2 separate regions of the Homo sapiens genome follow, and region 2 is linked to region 1. The links are contacts of gene promoters, found by promoter capture Hi-C in human tissues and cell types (Jung and others, 2019). All regions are on one chromosome and are shown on one strand. The core of a region is centred on a gene start or on the middle of the fragment in contact, and the rest is flanking DNA. Distances in the headings are between cores, read along the strand shown. Region 1 holds the start of CLDN19 (claudin 19). Region 2 overlaps FOXJ3 (forkhead box J3).

Evidence for each region. Contacts are between HindIII fragments. The study calls those that stand out against the background at their distance.
Region 2: a contact is called between a fragment that was not itself captured here and the fragment with the promoter of CLDN19 in region 1, in 2 of the 25 tissues and cell types used here (hippocampus and mesenchymal stem cells).

The regions. Positions count from the first base shown.
Region 1 is chr1:42,736,647-42,742,105 of GRCh38, forward strand. CLDN19 (claudin 19) reads right to left here and starts at 3,590. Exons shown (of 5, transcript NM_148960.3): 1 at 3,195-3,590; 2 at 1,775-1,939; 3 at 1,583-1,667. The coding sequence starts at 3,417. RefSeq lists an enhancer at 4,947-5,459. The HindIII fragment of the contact is 9,679 bases long and covers 1,941-5,459 here.
Region 2 is chr1:42,261,001-42,267,168 of GRCh38, forward strand. It overlaps FOXJ3 (forkhead box J3), which reads right to left. Exons shown (of 13, transcript NM_014947.5): 4 at 4,115-4,189. Among named protein-coding and RNA genes, the nearest start is that of FOXJ3, 71 kb to the right of the region's middle. The HindIII fragment of the contact is 5,095 bases long and covers 1,794-6,168 here.

The DNA of each region.
Region 1 (5,459 bases), core at 2,340-4,839:
TCTTCGTGGGGTCTTTCCTTGACATCCTCTGTGTTCACCCCGCCCCTTGCGCCGACTCCACTACCATGCTTTCTCCAGGAGGCCTCAGCCCCTTGCTTGTCCGGCTCCCTGGGAAGCCCCTTGAGGGCAGACAGAGCCATCAGTGTCCCCAGGACCCAGCACAGGGCCTGGCAGCCCAAGTGGCATTGGGGACTGTTGAAGGGATCGGGGGCCGAGTCCTATCCTGACATGCCTGAGCTGGACCTTGCTTGGCAGACTTTGTGGCTGCAGCCACCACCCAGGGAACAAACCTTGTACCTGAGATCTCCTCCCTCCCCTTGCCTCTCAACACCTCTGCCTCCTCCAGGCATCCCTCCCGATTGCAAAAGCCCAGACATCTTTTCTCATCCTCTCTCCACCCCAAGGCCCAAAGCCCATTGGGATGTCTAGGGTTAAGACTGTCCCATTCTCTGCTCCTGGCTAGGCTGAGAAGTGAGGGAGGAGCCAAGGTGGGCCCAGGCCCTTTGCAGAGCATCCCCTTCAGTTCCCATGCCCACAGTCTTACAAGTCCTGGTTATCTCCTGAATATCAGCCTGCTTTCCACTGCTCCCTCCCTGTTGCCCCAAACTCTCTGCTCAGACCTTTGGGACAGCCGCCTTCCTGGTGTCACTCCCTCCCCACCATTCTGCACATCACAGCCAGAAGGACTGCCGCTGCCTCCACCCAAATGAGGAACAAAATCTTCCTGTGGTTGCAAGGCCCTCCACGATCTGCCCTTATTCTCAAGTTTCTTCCTGGCCCAGAATAACTGCTGCCTCCTGCAGGAAGTCATCTCAGCCCTGCTGCCACCAGCAGAAATGAAAACAGCTCAGGCTTGCTGGGTACTGTCCAGGGCCCGGGCACGGTGCCACACCCTCACCTGCATCCTGCTGGATCCTGACAACCATGTGTGAACTGGTGCTCAGGTTCTAGCTCCATTTCACAGAGGAGGAAACTAGGCACAGAAAGATTAAGTAACTTGCCCAGGTGACACAGTGCATGCAAAGCTGGGATTGATTGATCGTTTGATTTTTTTGAGACAAAATCTCACTCTGTCACCCAGACTGGAGTGCAGTGGCGCAATCTCGGCTCATTGCAACTTTTGCCTCCCGGGTTCAAGCTATTCTCCTGCCTCTGCCTCCCGAGTAGCTGAGATTACAGGCGCCCGCCACCATGCCCAGATATTTTTTGTATTTTTAATAGAGACGGGGTTTCACCATGTTGGCCAGGCTGGTCTTGAACTCCTGACCTCAGGTGATCCACCCATCTTGGCTTCCCAAAGTGCTGGGATTACAGGCGTGAGCCACTGCACCCAGCCAGAGCTGGGATTGAAACCCAGAGCCAGGGCACTTAGGTCCTTAGAGAGTCCTTGCTGCACCTGGGTGCCCATCACAGGCCTCCCGCCCCTATGGAGGGCCCCACCACACTCCTCCTGGCGCCCCCCTTTAAAGCTTCTTGGACAGCAGCTGGATCCTGTCCCCACTTCCCCCGCCAGGTGATCCAGTGGACAAAGGTCAGTGGCCCCAGAGGAGGTAAAGCAAAAGACCCAAGCCCTGGCACCCACCTGGCATTGACAGGTGTGCTTGGGTTGAAGAACTCCTGGGTCACCAGGGTGGCATACCACGAGACAGCAGTCAAAGTGCAGAGGCCTAAAGACAAAGCAGAGGGGCGCTCAGCTCTGCTCTGGCCCCCCGAGGCCACTGGGGCTGGGGCTGCCTGCCATGGTTGTGATTGTGCAGGAGTGAGGGGCACTCACCTGCCAGGATGAAGAGGGCTCCCCCGGCGATGGCAACACGGCCCTTGGCAATGGGGTTGCTGTCTCCCACCCGCGTACACTTCATGCCAACTACGCTGAGGACCATGGCCACGAAGCCCAGGAGCACGGCCACCACCATCAGGGCCCGCGCTGATTGGATGTGACCTAGGGTGGGCGGGATGACACTGAGTCGGGCTGGCGGGGATGGGGGTTGGGTCGGTGCCTGGGGTCGGTGGAAGGAGCCCAGCTTGAGAGGGGCTTGAGCAGGAGCTGGCCTGGGGGGTCAGACCACCTTCTGGCAGGTGCAGGATAGTGAGGAGTGACAGCCCGGGCATGAGGACAGGGTGTGGGGGTGAGAGTCCCCTTCACTGTCAACGCCATTCTCCACTCGCCCTTGCAGGCTTTTCCGGTAGTATGATTCACTCTGCTGTTGCTTTCTGGCCTGGGGACTCCCTCTTGGGCTTGGCCCATCCTCCCAAGCAGCTGAGGGCAGCTCCAGGGTCCCCTCAGGTTTGGTAGGTGGAAGAGCTGGGGGTATCTGAGGCCCAGCTCAACTCAGCCTGAGCCCCGCAGCAACCCCTCCCCAGCAGCCATTCAGACAACAGTCACTTTCCCCTCTGCCCATGGCAGCTGGAAGCTTGCCTCTTCACGGGTGCATGGGTCCATCCTGGGCCCTGGGGGGTGCTCAGGAGACCTGGGTCCCTCAGCGAGGCTAGATGACCTGCCTGAACTGACCTGCCTGAACTGGCACAATGGGGCTGGTTGAAGGCCGCTCTGCTCCCAGCTCCCATGGGGAGCAGATTGTCCCTGGGGGCTCCTGGGCAGATTGCAGGTGGATCACCTCCACCCCAGAGTTAGAACTTCGGCGGTGCCTGTCAGGCTCATCTCCACACCCCAGAAGGAGAGGGACTGCATGCAGACACACCTGTCTGTGCATGCATGTGCACGTGTGTGCGTGTGCATGCGTGTTTGCATGCATGTGCATGCACCCATATGCTGGCACACAGGCCTGGGAGCAGGACTAGGGAGCAGGTGTGCATCATACAGTGTGTGTCTGTCTACTGACTGTGGGGAGAAGTGGATGAAGGGTCTTAACTGAGTCTTTCAGAGTGCCACAGGTATTAGTATTCCCCTTTAGAGATGAGAACATCACAATGGGAAGAGGTTTGGTGACTAGTTCAAAGTTATAGTGACAGAGCAGGAATCTGGACCCACAGCCGCCAGACCCTAGAGCCCTCCCCTCCCACAGGGCAGCAGGCTGGCCTGGACCGTCAATGGGCACAGGGCAGTAGTGGGGGAATTGTAGAGCGGAGGCTGGAGGTTGGAGCCCAGCGCAGATAGCAGACTGTGAGGAAAACTTGCTCCAGACTCCCCTGCTGTTCCCACCTCCCATCTCCCACCCCGCCGGCCTGGGGCCTACCGTCCAGGGCGAGCAGCGAGTCGTAGAGCTTGCACTGCACTTGCCCAGTGCTCTGGGAGGCGCAGGACATCCAGAGCCCTTCATAGAGGCCCACGGCAGTGATGATGGCGTCGCCTGCGTAGGAAGACTGCTTCCACTGTGGCAGGGCTGTGCTAGCAATGATGCCCACCCAGCCACCCAGGGCCAAGAAGTAGCCCAGGAGCTGGAGGCCTGAGTTGGCCATGGCCCAGGAGAGAGGACCGAGGGTCCCAGGACTCAGAGCTGGGCCAGGGTGCCAGCAGGGGCTTTGGTCATGGCCAGGTGGGAGGAGCAGCTGGGCAGGGGGAGCAGCGAGAAGGAGGGTCAGAGGCAGAGAAGGAGAGGTGGTGCGGCGGCAGCGGCTGGAGCAAAGGCAGTGGCTCTGGACTCCAGAATGCAGGGGGAGGCCCAGGGGCTGGAAAAGGCCAGGGCCCGCCCACAGCAGCCGCCTAAGCCAGAGCAGGGTCCCCAGCAAAGCTCATGCCCAGCCCCCTGGGGGCGGAGGGCCGGCCCATGGCCCAGGTGGTGTCCCTGCCCCGCCCCGTTCCGCAGGGATAGGGAAGGGAGGGGCTGAGAGGAATGACCCAGCTGCCCTCTGGGCCTTTCCCCACAGGGAAACCCCTTTAGGAACCTGATTCGGGTGTCCTAAAATTCGGATAATCCCTAACCCAAACACCAGCCCTGGGAGGATGGACTTTGCTCTTGCAAGGCTGATCTAACCCTTGGGGTTTTCTGCCCTTTGACTTTAGGACAGAAGGGAAAGGAATGCCAGTTTGCAGCGGGTAAAACTAGAGTTAGATGTCAAGGATAACTTTTTGGCAGGGGCTCTGAAGCTGGATGTGGGGAGGCTGAGCTAGCGGTGGGGTGTTGGGAAGAGGGGTCATGGGTACCTGGGAGCTGTGTGTGCCAAAAATCAGGGAGGCCAGACCAGGAAATATGTACTGTGGGGTCTTTTTGAGATCTGAGGGGGACAGAAAAGGGGCCCTATCGAGGCTGGGCCAGCGCTGGCTGCCGGCCAGCAAGGGGCCTGGTGGGGAGCTGGGGAGACAGCCCCAACCTTCTGGCATCAGCCTGAAGGAAGGCGGATTGCTCAGCCCCTTAATCCCCTTGCTGGCTGGCTTAGTAGCTCCTGCTGGGACTGGAACACTGGGCCCTGGCCCCCAACTCTAGAGCAGCCTGGCGCGGAGCAGTGGCCTCTGCACATTCCCGGGGTTCAGGCTGCCCGCTCCGAGCACCCCCACCTCCCTCTTCTCTCTCCCAGTCTCTCTTGGTCTTCAGGAGTAGGGGAATGTTTAACTCTCTTCCACCTCATTAGCAATCCCCTCACGTTCAAGTGGGCCCCACTGCAGCGTGGGTGCAGAAGGAATGTCACAACCCTGCTTCCACTCCTGCCAGCCCCCCGCCGCCCCCTCCGTCCCCAACAGCCCACCCACCCTTCCTGGACTGCACTGGGGGAAGGCAGGGTCCTGCTGCAGACCCCTGCTGGCTTCCTCCCCCACAGCCCCAACCCCCCTCTGAAGGGACAAGTCCCCAGCCCGCTCTTGCATTCTTCACGTGGCTATGCAAACGAGAGGGTGCCAGGCGCTGAGCAGACAATGGCAGCCCTGTGTGCCCGCCCAGGGCGTAGGCCTCTGGTATGGCCTGCAGCTCTGGCCAGAGATGGGGGAGTGGTCTGCCATCTGAGGGTCAAGGGTGGGCACTGCTTGACCTGTGGTGGTGCACACTGGGACCCTCAGGCTCTCTGTGCTGGGAGGGTCAGAGCCACGTGGATCCGAGCACACACAGACCTGCTTCCTGGACGACCTGTGGGTCCCAAGACCAAATGGGGTCTAGGACAGTGGCAGAGAAGTAAGTCCTGAGCTCAGATTCTTCTACCACAATGACAAGACAGTAGGATTGAGGGGAGCCTCCTCCATCCTACTGGGGCCGCAATGGGCACCCTGTGACCAGTGCATTAATTTAAGCATGTGGGCCACTGTTGCAGGCAGCAGGCCTCCTAACAGTAAGGAGACCACGGCAGAGGGAGGTAATAGACCCCCAGCCAGGAAACAGCAGGAAGGGCTTTCCGCTTGAAACTGTGTGGTGCTGGCCCCTGTGGTCTCTCTCCCACACTCCTCCCTTTTTGAGGGAGGCACCAGGTCCAGATTGAAGGGGGCTGCGGGCAGTGACAAGATGCTCCCCAGGGGTGACCTGAATGACTGTGGTGCCTCAGGGTCCTCACTCTAAATGGGAGGTTTGCTTCATGGA
Region 2 (6,168 bases), core at 3,091-5,590, 470 kb before region 1:
TTTCAAGTCAAAGATCATTTCTCTGAACTGAAGAAAGGGAAACAAAATTGAGAAAAGGTTAAGCTGAAAAGCAGAGAAAGAAAATTATATTTTTTAAACTATATTTAGCCAGTAATCTGCTTTTCCCTGATGTAAATATTTACCTTTAAGATAATTAAGACACATGTATGAATTACACAATAAGACTTATAACCCAAAGAATTTAAAAAAAAAAAGACAAATATAGAGAAAACAGAACTAATGAAAAGAGAAGAGACAAAAGACGGGATTTAAAAAATGGAGATAGACTGCAGAATGTATAGACAGGGTAAAAAGGGTATAATCAAGAGAAAAGAAAAACAAATCTGTCCCCAAAAAAGCAGCAAAGTGGATGCAAAACTGAATTTCATTTTGTGTGTGTGTGTGTTTTTTTTAATAAAGTGGTAACATAGCTGCTTGAAATTAGTTGTAAAGAGGTGAGAAAAATGAATCTCAGACCACCAATGTACATAAAGGGTACCAAATTTTAAGGGCTTTTACGACACAATCTTCTTGAAAATGAAGGATTAAGTAAGGAATAGATAGCCACATAAAAACATCTATGATTCAACAATACACTTCAAGATTAGGTTGTTCTTCACACCTCTCTGGTAATACAATGAACAGAAAGCTGTATCGTGAAAATACAGAGAAGATGCTATACGAGCTACTTCTACCTCTTGACCTAAGTCATGGCAGCAGCTAGCAAAATCCTAAGGGGTTATAAAGTCCGTCCCATACCCAAGACCAAAATCTACTCCCACCCCAACTTCGCTCAATGGTTTTCTCCCACTGTGGTGAGGGTGGTTTTGGAAAAGCTCCTCAAATGTCAGGAAACACTGTAATACAAAAAGAAACAACAATTCATAAGTACCAAAACTTAACTAACATTTTGGTCTCCCTCTCAAGGAAGACTGATATCATGGAAAAAGTACTAATCTAAGAACTAAGAAACCAACTGTGCTTTGCTTGTTCAACATTCATTCTAAGACTTTTTCTGTAATTCCAGGTGATTTGGGGGGTGACGGGGTGAACACCAGGCCTACTCTCTCTGTTAAGTGTTACTCAGCTGGTGGAATATAAACCAGAAGCTGCTGAAAGACATACTTGCCACTAATTGGACTGAAAATGAAGCTATCAGAGAAGTTAGCACAACTAATGGATGAAGAGACATTCCTGGTGATATAATTTAAGAACCTGGCTCCAGTTCTTCCTTAAGTACTTTTCCCTTTAAGTTAGTTTGTATTGAGTTTCTGTGACTGACAAGTATGTCTGGCGAATATGCCTGGGTTCTAATTCCACAATGAACCTGAGCAAGCTGTTCCTCATCTACTGGCCTTAGTTTCTTCTTTTATGAAATGGGCTTGAGCTGAAGTCTTCAAAGCTTTTTTAAAGCAGTGGAATTTTGTGTTTTCTTAAAAAACAAAATCTCATTTTGAAATCAAAAATAAAAATGACTTTATTCACATAAATGTATTTTATAAGACCAAATTTACATCTATGTCTGACCAAAATCAAAGAGAAAAATGTATTTAAACCTCGCTTTGTGGCCAGGTGCGGCAGCTCACGCCTGTAATCCCAGCACTTTGGGAGGCCGAGGTGGTCCTATCACTTGAGGTCAGGAGTTTGACACCAGCTTGGCCAAGATGGTGAAACCCCATCTCTACTAAAAATACAAAAGTTAGCCAGGCATGATGATGTACACCGGTAGTCCCAGCTACTCAGGAGGCTGAGGCAGGAGAATTGCTTAAACCCGGGAGACGGAGGCTGCAGTGAGCTGAGACTGCACCACTGCACTCCAGCCTGGGCAACAGAGTGAGACTCCGTCTCAAAATTAACAAACAAATAAACAAACAAATAAAATAAACCTCACTTTGAGACTGAAAAGAAAAATTACTACTACAAATGTACTTTATAAAATCAAATGTATGATATTTACTTATTATGACCAAAATCAATAAGAATGAGGTGTTTTAATACATACAAAACCTTAAAACTGAAAACTACTGGTAAAAGATGAAAGCTCTCATTAGCCTCTCAGGACTCAATTTATTTCTGTATTTTGTTTTAGTTGCACATTGAGAATCCTGATTCAAAAAGAAGAGTTGCAAAGAGTAACATGTTTTCCATATCTGTCTTACCCCATATATTAAAGATGAACAAAAGCTTAAACTTCTACACAAAAGAAAAATACCTGACATGACACATTTTTAAGAGTCTCCAATTGGTTAAAATCAAGTACATGATAGAATTAAGCATTCATGTGTACTGATTTTTAATTTTTTTTAATTATTTCAAATTCATTTAAAAATCCAATCAGAACCAAAATGTTTACAGAACCCAAATAGTAACTTCACAGGACTCTAGTAAATAATCTCTGAAGTCTCTTAAAAATATTTTTCAGTCTGATTCATATATACTCATTGCCTATAGGAAATGTGATAAAGAATTTATTTTTAAAATCTAATTATCTTTTTGTAATAAGCCTCCTTTCCTTTAAAGGAAAAGGTGCACCAATTCCTATTCAGAATCTCAAAGTTAAAAACATAGAGAAACAATTTCTTACAAGACTATTATAATAATCTGTTCAATCTTACTGAGAACCAACTTGACGGAGCAGACAGATGATAAAAAGTGCTATAAAATGTTCATTACTTCAGAAAAACTGCCTAAAGATAGAAACGAATAACTCTTCATCTCTAACTTCAAGAAGTTAACAGTCTAACAGAGGATACAGTATATTCATTCATTCAACAAGGGTGTCTCCTCAGTGCCATCAGCCACTGTGCAAGCAACTGGGTCTAAACAGTGAACAAGATACACATGAACCCTACTTGCATAAATTTAGATTTTAAGGGCAGTAGATAACTAACAAAGAGCTTGAAAAAAAGAGACCATATGAGTAGGTTAACTTTTTTTTTTTTTTTTTTTTTTTTTTTTGAAGATTGCTGCCTACTATGTGAAAGTTAATATAAACTGGAGGGATCGAGCCCAGCCATTGAGAGTCCAATTAGGAGCTACTACAATGATGACGGTCGCTACAAAATAAAAAGAACTCAAAAGAGGGAGCAACAAATTCAGCTGAAGTATGGGGAAACAAAAAAGCCTCAGAGAAGTCATGTTGCAGCTCAATACTGAAAGATAAGAAGCAGTCTAGACAAGTAAAGCAAGGAAATTTGTACAGAAGACCATATGAATAGCATGTTTGGAAAACTTCAAGTAGTTCTTCATGATGAGTCTTGAATGAGGTGAATTATAGCTAGAAAGGCAGATTGAGAAAAAAACAGTAAAGAATATTTTACAAGAAGAGAAAGTAAACACCTCCTGGACACTAAGGAATACTTTTAAGCAAGGTGCTTACATGACCAGGGTTACATTTTAGAAAGATTCTTCCAAAATCAGTTAGCCTAAAAACAAATATAAGAAGTCTAGCCACCTAAACAAGCATCGTGCTTCCCAATAAATACACTGTCTCAAAGTCCTAATCTAGTAACTTACCTTGACAACCAAATACAGTACAACCAAGTACTCTTAAGTTTCAGAGACCAAGCAACTAGGACCAAGTTCAGGTCACACTATAGTTGACTAGCTATTAAAACAACAAAAAAAGGGAGGAGTCACCATAGAAAAAACGCTAAAAACGTGAAAAATGCAGTGGTGTCAGGAGATAAGAAGAGTCAAGTACAGAATACTCTTCTTGATTACACTCAGAAATGGGCTAATAACAGAGAAACTGTTTTATTCCAGTGTAAGAATACTTCCACTTTTTGCCAGTTACACAGAGATGCACCCCTTATATGTAATAATGAATTATGGTTCCTGACAAGCAGCTCAATCACCAAATTTAATTTAATACACAATACTTCAACCAAAGATTAGATTAGAAACAGCAAAGTACAACAGCACTGTGGTGTGCAACAGCTATACACTAGTTAGGTTCCCACAGCTTAAAACTCTCTAACAAGCTTTAGAGCAGGGTGGGGGAGGACTTACTATTTTGCAGAGGTTCCTATTCAATGAACTGGAAAAGTTCTTAATTCAAACATGACAAGTGACATACTGAAGAATTCAACTGTTTTAAGAAGATGAATCCTACCTTTCCAGGGTCATCCTTAGATCGAGGCACTTTAAGGAAACATTTGTTCAATGACAGATTATGTCGTATGGAATTCTGGAATTAAAGAAGAAAAGCCATAAGGTCAATAAAATCCAAAAAACATAACCCAAATTTAAAAACAGAATTAGAAATCTAAACATCTTTATGCTTTGCAAAACAATTACAAATGGAATAAACTTTTTAATCAGCTTAAAATTTAAATCTTTCTGACTTTCAAATTATGAATGCTATGAGGGGAAGCTGTTACTGGAAAATAATTTCTAGAGGATTTCATAAAATGTAATATATGTAGCATTTTAAGTGCTTATGACTTTTATTGATACAGGAAGATGCCTGTAATGTAATGTTAAATATTAAATTCCAAATATAAAATTGGCATATTATGATACATATTATGACTTTAATTGTGGTACTTATTTTATTTATTTATTCTTGGAAATAAGCCAGAATGCAAAATGTAAGAAGTTACTCTACATGAAATTAAAGATGATGACTATTTTCTTCTCTTTACTTTTCTGCAAAGTCCAAATGGTCTGCAAGACACATGTATTACCACTTATTAATTAGTTTAAAAAATGCTTTAAAAAAACATTCACTGCTCTATTACAAAAAAACATATAGAACCCTATTAGGTTCTCACCACAATCTGTAAAAAAGAAAACCACATGGAAAGATACTGGCTACAGGGAGCTGGGAAGAACATCTAAATTCTTCATTGTAGCAGGGAAGAACACCCAAGGTGGGTAGCAGGAAAATGCCCTTGGAAACCTGCAGAGTCTGTGAAAAAGAAATTTGTTCATGAATAGGTAGGACTGTACCCCAATTCTTACAGAATATGCCCCAAAGTCCATTTCTTCTCAATTAAATGCTCCAAAACCCATTCTCAAATTATCTTGGTTTGTTCCCAAATGGCTAGTATTTGGGAGAGAAGAGGTCCAACTGCATTTAGCCATTACTTAGAATGGTACCTTCTGGGATCATATTTTGACATAATATCTGCTTTATTGTTTAATATAAAATTCAGTAGTCTAACAAGAATGCCTATAATAAAACTTATCTCCCTCAGGCACAATATTGGAATTTTAAACGTTTTTAAAAGATGACTACAGAATATAAATTCAAGACCATCTATTACCAAAGCAGAAATTTAAAACTTATGCTTGGGATGTAAACAGCTACAAAGAATGATGCTCTCTCCCAAAGAGAAAACCCTAGGTAAGCTTTAAAAAAAATAAACAAAAAAAACCTATTTTTAAGCCACATCAGAGAGCTCAGGTTGCAAGGCAACCAAACCACATTCCTAAGAGGAGCAAGGCTATTCAATGAGAAACTGGACACACAACTAAATCACCTTTGGCAGAGCACAGGAAAAAGAGATGGCCACCATCCAAGCAGTTAAAAAGAAATTAGCTAAAATTTTAAAGGCCAAGCGTGGGGCTGTCACTTTAGAGCAACAAGAACCCCAGACACGAGAAGTTCCCACACACTCTTAAGCTCTTCTCCATAGGTCTTTACCATGTGTTCCTAAGAAAAAATAGGGGTAGGAAAGGAGACCCAAGAAAGTCTCCCCTAGTGGCATAAACAGGAAGAAAGTGATTGACAGTGACAGGCAGTGAGGAGACAAAGCCCACCAACCTTCCATAGATTTTACAAAGCAAAAAAACAAGTTTGCAGTAAAGGCAGCAAAACCTGTCACCCATAGGACTCTGGCAAAGATTCACTGCTTCTGGGGGAAGAATGGAAACAAAACCCTGGTGCCTCTAGGAAGGGATAGGAAACCCTTACCCAGTACATAGGCAAAGATGTTCTGCTGCTGGAGGAAAAGTAGAAGCAAATCCCTTGAACTCTGGGAGAGGTATAGGAAACTACCTTGGGCCCAGGATCCTATACAGATACCATGTAGAGGTCTGCTACACCTGGAGAAGAGGCGCGAAACTCTCACCCAAAAGTAACTACAGATACACAAGACTAGTCTGGCTGAGGGAAGAAACACTGAAACAGCCCACCCTAAGTTCGAGGGTCTGCATAAGACT